2 separate regions of the Homo sapiens genome follow, and region 1 is linked to region 2. Evidence: promoter capture Hi-C in human tissues and cell types (Jung and others, 2019). All regions are on one chromosome and are shown on one strand. The core of a region is centred on a gene start or on the middle of the fragment in contact, and the rest is flanking DNA. Distances in the headings are between cores, read along the strand shown.

Region 1 (4,463 bases), core at 1,346-3,845, 1.3 Mb before region 2:
CTCTGAAGAAGACAGGACAGGAATGAGATGGAGGAGCTTGCCACAGGGGAAGTTCATGTTATATGTAATGTCTCATTGTTAAATAAAATTTGAAACACATATGGAAATGGTGAACAAAGGGCACAGGAGTGCTTGTTGGATTCTTCTCTGTAACTTTCTGCATGTTTGTAGTATTTCATAATTTTAAAGTCTTAAAATGTTAACAAATGCATGGATCTCTGTGTACATGCTGTGAGATACAATCTGAGGTTTGGGTGAAAACTGGCATCTTGTCAAATAAACTGCTTGAATAACTATTGCTATAAAACATATAAATTTAATTACTGCAATTATTTTGTGATTGTAAATCAAGGTATCCAGAAACTGGAAAGTCTATGAAGCAGCCAGGCTAGCCCCTCTGCCAGGGAAAGATGCAGTGAGCGAGCCTGGGCTGCATGAGGCACACAAGCGCGATGCCAGGCAAACACCCGTCGGGAGGGCCCAGCCCTGCCTTCTCGTTAGGATACGTGAGAGCTTATGAAATTTTAAAATCTTGTTTAAGAAATAAAAAATAAAGGTATCTCACCAAGTTTGCCAGTTCTGTATGGTCGGCTATAAGCTCAGTTACATGAGGCTTAGAGACAAAGGGGAGGAGGGGACGTCAGACTCTGAGATGGGATGGGGTGCCTGTGTCTTGTGGCCCTGACTGCACACCTGCTTGGGAGCCTGCCCTGTCAAAGGAGCACGTGCAAGGAGGAAACAAAATCAGGGTGAAGTGTAAGTGGTGTTGCCACCGACGCCCACCGATGTGATGCTTTCCCTGGCACACTGTACAGTAGGCTGTTTCTCGCCTTTAAGGCGTTGTTCACAAGAGGAACAACCGCAGACACCTCACTGTCCCCTGCTGAAGGTCAATTCCATCACGAGGTGGATCTTTTCATCTTAGCCCCACCAAAATATCCCGAAGTCTAATATCGAATGGGCTAATTCGCAAGAAAAAGCAGCAACAGGTACTTAATTTCAATCTATTCTTTCACCTGGTTTCACTAATTGTTAAGAAAGAAAGAAATGCAGATGAGTATATAGCAGCTTATGGTTTGTTTCTCATTTGTTTGGTGTATTAAATGAGTATTTCTGATGCAAATCTGTGATGACTGCAGAATACGAACATTACTTGAAAGAATCTTAACTAAATGCAATATTAAAATGCCTCCTTGGGTGACTATCTTATGGGGTGGTTTTGTTTCTGATATCAAAAGGCTAACAAAGCGAATGTGCTCATCATGACTTTATTTGACTTCAAAGTCAAAGTGAAAATTATGCAATAAATTCAGCAGCTATAAGTCTAATTTGACATGTGGAAAAATGTATTCTACCGTTATTCTGAAAATATATATATTTCTAACATTTCTGTTCAAGAGTATCATAAAGGTAGAAGTTTGAAACAGCTGAGTCATGCTAACTTTGATTACAGAAGTGCTCCCAGTTTACAATAGTGTTACGAGTCTAAGAAAACGAGTTTTCAAACTGAAATGAGTTACTGCAGAAACATTTTCAGAAGGCATATAAAAAGGCACTAAAATTTATTCTATCAGTTGTTTCCTAAATTATATTACTGATTCTGGACCTTAATAATCCACTGTACTTTCTTATTGATTTGTTTGCTTACCTGCATTTTACTGTGTATTAACATCCTCTCTCCACGTGTTCGGAAAAACTATTACACAATCATTTAAAATGTGACCTGCCACATTTAATGTTAAATAGTATATAACAGACACTGAAAAAGTTATTAGGAACTTTTGCTGTGTGAACCCTACAGAAGCCCTTCAAATAAAACACAGCTTCTGTGTTTAGGGCAGGCTGAGTGTTTCAAATGAATCAGTGCACAAGGCCCTGCCACACCAAGCGCCCCGAGCGGATTCACTACTTCTCAACGGCCACCCCACATCTCTTCTTCCTGAGGTTTTTAAACTGTGTTCAAATTGTTTACTTCACAAAACAGATTTGTTCATTACGATTTATGTGACACTTTTTTTAGAACTTATTGCCAGGCCCACCATTCTACGATTGGTCAAGTTTTACTTCAGCTAAGCTAAACAGAAACATGATAGATTACTGGAATTTAAACGATAAAAAGTAACATTTCAAAGAAAAACAGAATACTTGTAAGGCCCTTAGTTGTTTTAGGGTCCTTATTTTCCTTGAAAATACACCAAGGAGACTGACTCCATTATCTTCCCACCCATAAAAGGGGAACCTCGCCCGGCTATTGTTAGTGCGGAGGAAAACACAACACGCCCCGCGGTGTTAAAATCACTTAAAACCGCAAAATTTCAACGTGACAGGTAGTGTTTCCTCACAATGGCCTCAAGTAAGTGACGTGCCTCTGGTCCAAGGAAGCTTCTTGTGTTTTAATTACACTAAGCAGAATTTAACTATAGAAGTTGCGCTAAGAGCCGACGATGAAACTTCTCAGGCTGCATTGGGTTTCGGTATTAGTGGTTTGGGACATTTTTCACAAGCAGTAATTCAAGAGAAAAGGCTGTTTCATCAAAACACAATGGCACAGAATATGAAAGGAAGTTCTGCAAGTACCAAAAAAGACAAATAAAAGCAAGTATACGCCCCACCTGAGCAGCCCCCGCAAACAGAACTTAGGAGGGAGCTGACAGATCCCGAGGTCCTGAGCCTGTTCACTACGCGTGCCCCCCAGGTACTCTGAATTTAAAGGAATGCATAAAATATAGGCCCCGTTGCTCTGCCGTAACATATTTTTAACAGTTCTCAAACCATTCTTAATGAGTACACACATTTAATTATTGGTGGGTGTTTTTAATATCTGAGCTACATCAATGAACCAAGGACTGATATCACATTGTTCCCATTTACGAAATGCCTTGCTTTTCTACATTCAATTATTAACCAGGAAATGGAACGTACAAAGGCCAAACCCTTTCGGTATGTGGGAAAGTCAGATCAGGAGCCAGCAGCTGTTAAAGAAACCAGAAGGCTGCGCTGATCTGGCCTTGGGAGCGCCCCGTTTACTGCCTCTGAGCAACCTCCTTGAGGGCCGTGTGAGGGGCCAGGGCTGCAGTCTCACCCTCTTGCCCTCCAGGCTTGAGGCAGGAGTGGTCTCCCTCATCCCTGCCCGCCCTCCCTCCACTCCGGTTTGGATTCAGGTGTTAGAAAAGGATTTAAGGAAAACACTTACTTGAAACACACACACACACACACACACACACACACACACACACACACACGATTTTATAATTAAAGCCACACAATTAGGAGTGGAAAGCTCAGGCTGGCAGTATACAGACTAGATAGATGCCTTCCAGAAAAAAAACTTAAGAAAAATGAAAAAAACAAAACAAAACCCTTATATTGTTTACGAACCTACATATCTAGTCACTAGAAGATTCCACTGACAGCTCTGATAATGTCACGTGCAAGTGAACGATTCTTAATGTCAAGGCCACGAGACTATCCTCTTACGACCCTAACTCTGGAGAAGGAAGATGTCCTCCCCTGAATTTTACACACATTACACACACACACACACACACACACGTAATTTTTCTTATGGCCTCTCCCAAATCCTTAACACGTGGGCATTAGACAGTCTTAAAGAGGGCTTTCTTCCAGGAGTATCAATGCTTTCACAGCAAACAACAATTCACAGCCACGTAGCCTCTTTTATGCCTTTCTGAAAAAGTGGACAGTTCTATTTCTGTATCACCAGGTAAAGCAGCTGTTAAGTCGGTTTTCTAACTTCGCATATTAGTTTCAGGGCTGGTCATTCAAACAACTAAAACTGATCATGTTTTCTTAATATTCACATTTATTGCAAATACTTTTCTAGAAGCCAATGCCAACTACCTGATTTTTTCCTCAATGTTAAGCAGATATTTTATCTGTACTATTGAGAAATCAGGAGGCACTAAAATGTAAGTCCCAGTGACCTGAGATACAAAACGGAATCACCACCTCATCCATGAGAGACAGTCATGTCCGGATGCTATTTTCCTGCACATGAATAAAAATGCAAGTATTTAAGTGTACCTGGAAATCTGGTTGCCTCCTAAATTGTTTTCTTTTCACTTTTGCTGCTCATCAGTAGAGATTTCTATCCATGTTCTAAGAAAATGTGTGCATCCTATCAATTCATCCATGTAAGTTATCTCGAGGAAATAATATAGCTTTGATTTGTGCTTTAATGTCACAAGATCAAGATGAAAAACTTCAAACTGTGATGCTACATTTTATTTACCAAGTAATGGAAGTGCTCTGGTACTGTACAGATTGCAGAATTAACCTTTCCTCAACTCTTCTTCCCAATTAGACATTTGTTCCAGGAATCATGCAAAAAGTTCCTCATCGGAGTATTATTCCCTGGCATGACTTCAATGGATGCTTTGAGCACAGCATACTAGAGAGTAAGCAGCACTTTTAAGGAAAGTACTTCCCAAAACACTGCATTT
Region 2 (4,900 bases), core at 1,392-3,891:
TCTATTAACTACATTCTTTCTCATTAAAAACTGGCTTAACTGAATTATATTCACTCAAAAACTGGTTTATAGGGCTAAAATCAAAATTCACTTATGGCTTTTAATATCAAAACCAAAACCCAAAACTGCAGCTAAAACACACTATTTGATAAAGCAAAGGGAATCTTGCAGTCTCTGGGAATAAGTAAAATCCCTCTTTTGCAAGTGAAACATTTCTCCTTCACTCATATTCCAAAGTAAGTGAAGAAATTAAAGCTGCATGAATGGTCCCTGAATAAGTTCCTCTGTTTGGGGAAAAAAAAAAATTCATTAGGTTCAAGTATTAAAGAAACTTGTGTCTACATTATACAAGTTGAATCCTTGACCCATTGTTTACTTGCTGTCAAATGACTGGGCAGTTTCTTTTCACTATAATTCCCTGCCAACACAAAACCATCGCGAAGATCCAGGAGCACAGCGAACGGGGGTCAATGCTATAGGGCTCATGGGTTGCAGGGGAGGACGACAGACCTCAGGCCCTTGCCTAAGTCTCCCCATCTCATAAGCTGGTCAAAGTGTCCCTGCCTGCTGACTCAAGGCCCAGACATTTATCCATTCCTCCCCCAACCTCTCCATTTCTTCACCTACTTGTTCAGTCAGAAATTCAACCAATATTAAATGCCTCTTCTCTACACACATATGCAACACATGCCAACTCTCAAGGAATGCAATTTAGTGGAGGAGAAAAAGCAAGTAAATATGCAGTAACAATGCAAACATGTGCCACTACAGGGATAGGTACCAAGTGCTAAGGAAACCTGCAGGGATGAACAACCAGCCCAGCTTCGGAGGGCAGAGAAACCAGCCCAGCTTCGGATGGCAGAGAAAGCTTCCTGAAAAAGGTAGCTACAAGAACAAAGAGCAGCAGGCCATGCCATCAGGTGGGAGACAGTGGTGAGGAATGCCACAGTGGGTGGAACAGCATGTGAGAGGCAGGAAGAGCAAATGTAGCCAGTCCAGAGGGCTGGAATGGAGAGCAAGATGAGGAAAAAGTGAGAGCTCACCCCAACCTGAAGCCAGGCCTATGGAGAGCCCTCAGGTGCTCCTGGATGCCTCCTCTAAGAGTCTGGCAATTCAGAAACAAGAATGCCCCTGTGCACCGTGAAGAATTCAAGTCTTGATGAAAGGACTCTTCTAGACACATGCCATCAATGTATCTGTTGATTTTAGCAGCAATGGGGAAGCTAATCAATACTTAATTTTAGAAAAGTCCTAAGCTATGTGAATAAGGCAAAGGACAGATTAGGTCTGCATGCAGGCAGATTTCTGTCCAGCTGAAACATCAAACTCCTGTGTGATGAATGAAATATAACATCACATATAAAAAACTGATGAATGTGATTCAGCCATAAGAAGTCCTATCTAGTGGACAGATCAATATAATTACCTCATAAGAAGTTATTACAGCGGGAGAAACTGGACCTGGCTTTACCTTGAGTTCTTAAGCAAGTAACTGGCCTTCAATTTCTTCATCCACACAAGAAATAGTTGCTATGGTTGTCTCCAACACTTCTAAAACCCATCATTCTGGCAGGTTGTAACAATCAAAAGTATTTTATCACCAAAGGCAAGGATTTAAGTAACTTTTCTAAGCCACAGATTTACTATGGTTTTGTCTGAGAAAAAAAAAAAAAAGGATGGACCCCAAACTGTCTAAAATTCAAAAAAACAAATACATTTAAGTTCATGAACCCTTTAAAAAGTTGACAAACCATGCATAACCAAACATAAAGATAATTAAAATTTTAGGATAAGCAAATGAGAGATAATTTTTTTTAAGAAATGAGAAAGTAAAACAAAATTAACCTAACAAGGCAGGCAGCGATTCGTTGCTCACTTCCCTTTCTGCTGGTTTCATTTCCCTTCTTAGGTGAAAACACTCTTAATATGTAAATCAGTCCACTAAAGACTTCAGAGTCCTTTCTGCTAAGATTTGCAGAAATTTTTATGCAAAAGAAATTATTTCTAGACTTCCACGCACTAGAAAAGCAGACTTACAAAATACAGCAAACTAAAGTGGATAAATGTATGTGGCAAAGCAGAAGCAATTAATCAAGGATCCTACTTTTAAGCATTTAGAAATGTTTAAATAGTAAAAAGTGGAAATGTGGATATTCTATGATTTTTAATAACTTGGTAGTAAAAAGTGAGACTCCATTTAGGAGTACCTACTAAGTGCCAGGTACTATTAAGCACTTGGGATCTTTCTGGTTTAGGGCCCCTACAATCCTACTGGATATAGTATTATCTCTATTTCAACTGTACAGAAATGAAGTAGGAACAAAGGGTTAGTCAGAGTGGGTAGGTAACTAGACAAAGTCACATAGCTTATAAAGCAAAGAAGCTAGACTTTAAACCCCCTTTTACTCAATATCAAATCTTCTCTTTCCATAGATGATGCAGACTTCAAGCATCAAAGTACACAAACTGAAGAAACTTTATCCTTTGTATATAATTATCTTAAATATATGCCATCATTTCAAGGGGAGCTTATGCTAAGTGTGACTTCATAAACAAATCATTTGTGAAAGAGAAAAACCACATCCAGGGTAAAGTCATAAGGTGAAAAAGCCTATTTCAGAGAGCACTTCCTGAAAGAGACAAAGCAGCAATTAAAGTCAGCCCAGCACCAACTCCGACGCCAAGCGTTACACTGGAAACTACTTTTTAAAGCAACAAAAGAGTCTAAAACAAAATACAACATTTCTTAAATACACTGTTTCCAGAAAGAGCTATTTTAACAGAAGCAACTCAAAGATATCCCTTCGACAGAAGTGGAAGTGCTGAAAAATGCTCATCTCTCACACAGACTTTTGATGGACAGGAGGTAAGCAGCATTTAATTAACTTCATGATTATTGTCAAAAGTAATGCTTTATGTACTGCATTTCAAAAATCATTTCATTTTAATAATACAGGCTGGGCGCAATGGCCCACGCCTGTAACTCCAACACTTTGGGAGGCCAAGGCAGGAGGATCAGTTGTGCCCAGGAGCACCATAGTGAGACCCCGTCTCTATTAAAAAAATATATTTAATTAAAAAAATAAACATAACAAACTATGTTGGTGAAAGACCTTGAAATAGGCTATATAATCATCTTTCCACATTAATATGATTTTACATTTATTTTCAATATTGCTTTACATTAATACTAAATGTAATTTTTTTCAACTTAAGGAAAGAAAATGTTTATGGTAAATCATATGTATATTTAGGAATGTTCATCACATGTTTTCAATTACATTGTTTCATGAAATAACTTAATGGTTTTTAAGAAAAGAAAAGCTACAGATAATCATGGTATCTATAGCTTTTAAAAAGCTGACTTTAAAGTCAATCACTTTTCAATATTTATCCAAAAATTTCTGTGTTTGCAGAGCACAATCAATACTATAATGCCTTTAAAACACATGCATCACTCATTTTTTTTCAAACGTCAGCAAATGAATATAAGTATTGGTGACAAGCTACATAAAAACAGCTTGAGCATAACGTGGGAAAAAAGACTCAAGATGGTTTGTAAGTACAGGACTTATGTCACAAAATTGAAGGATGAGGATAGGTGAAGGGAGTCCTGATGCAATACTAAAAAAAGAAAAACAAATACAAAATTTCATTTATATTATAATTGCTACTATTTAATAAGAATGCATTCCAGTTAAAAATAAGATTTAAGCCTCCAAGATTACTCTCCTTTGAATGACACTAGAGATATAATTTTTCTCTGTAGCACTTTCCTCATTTGATAGAAATTAATATTCTAGTCACACCAATATTTGGAAAATTTAATATGTTTTTAAATATATAGAATTATGCTCCTAAATCATATTTAACCTAAATATTTGAGAAGGAAAGAAGGAGAAGAAGGGAAGAAAGGGAAGGGAAGGGAAGGGAAAGGAAGGAAGGCAGACAGGCACGTTTCTTGTGTTTAACCACAGCAATTGCTCAAGTTAATTCTTAATTATCAATAGCCCGTGATGCCACTGACCACAGACAGCAAATCTCCCCCATAGTTTTCCTTAAAGAGAAATTCTGGGCTGATTTCAAGACAGCCCACTCTGCAAAGTGACATTTTTGAAGGAAACTTTTCATCCACCTCCATATTACAAGGGGATGCCACAGATTCCATCTCATTGCAGCAAAGTCTATTTTTGAAGTCTGTTGTTGGTGTTGCATCATGGGGGAATGAAGTTTCACACTGAGGAGTCAATGATATTTGCAACCCCAAATAACCTCCTTTCCATTTAAAATGGACGGTTTTTTTTTTTTTGGTGATGGAAATTTATAAGTTTCTACATACACATCAAGTTACTGAATGACTTCTTATTAATATCTACTTGTCTTAGATACTCCTTTTTTGGATTTACTTTGAAAATTGTTAAAATTTAAATAATATTGAAGCTTCTGAATCTAGATGGAATGAGGATATGAAAGTTACTAACGGCACTAGCTTTTTTCAAGGTGCTGCTTTCTGTGAACCACTGAAGTAGAGCAGCTGAAATCACAAAACCTGGAAGACTTGGCTTTACGTACTCCCAATTGTGCACTAGAAAACAGCTCATCTATTGCTCTAACAGTCTAGTTCTTGATCTGCTGACCATGACACAAAACATTGCTGTTTCTCAACCTATGATAATTTAAAGAGAACATAAGGTAATAAATATTATGAAGTGTTTCCACTTTAAAAAAAACAAAAAGTTTAATAGCCAGCTACACAAGTCTTCATTTTCAAACTAGAGAATTACAAACTAGAGTTTTTTAGCAAAGTAGAGTTGCTGTGAATCATCTCATCAAAAGTTCCTTCATTTATTCATCAATTCAGTAAATATTTATTTATTGAGTACCTATTACATGCTCAATA

Evidence for each region. The method cuts DNA at HindIII sites, captures the fragments that hold promoters and counts their contacts. A contact is called where the count stands out against the background at its distance.
Region 1: a contact is called between a fragment that was not itself captured here and the fragment with the promoter of GPR18 in region 2, in 1 of the 25 tissues and cell types used here (spleen).

What each region holds. Positions count from the first base shown.
Region 1 is chr13:100,515,826-100,520,288 of GRCh38, reverse strand. The region is part of intron 22 of PCCA (propionyl-CoA carboxylase subunit alpha); the gene reads right to left. Among named protein-coding and RNA genes, the nearest start is that of PCCA-AS1, 37 kb to the right of the region's middle. RefSeq lists enhancers at 387-1,052, 2,760-3,054, 2,503-3,227 and a silencer at 2,760-3,054. The HindIII fragment of the contact is 3,366 bases long and covers 913-4,278 here.
Region 2 is chr13:99,256,120-99,261,019 of GRCh38, reverse strand. It overlaps GPR18 (G protein-coupled receptor 18), which reads left to right and starts at 2,641. Exons shown (of 2, transcript NM_001098200.2): 1 at 2,641-2,866. All of the region lies in intron 4 of UBAC2 (UBA domain containing 2), which reads right to left. It overlaps LOC124903198 (a long non-coding RNA gene), which reads left to right. Exons shown (of 3, transcript XR_007063846.1): 2 at 772-881; 3 at 2,434-2,581. The HindIII fragment of the contact is 6,968 bases long and covers 1-2,654 here.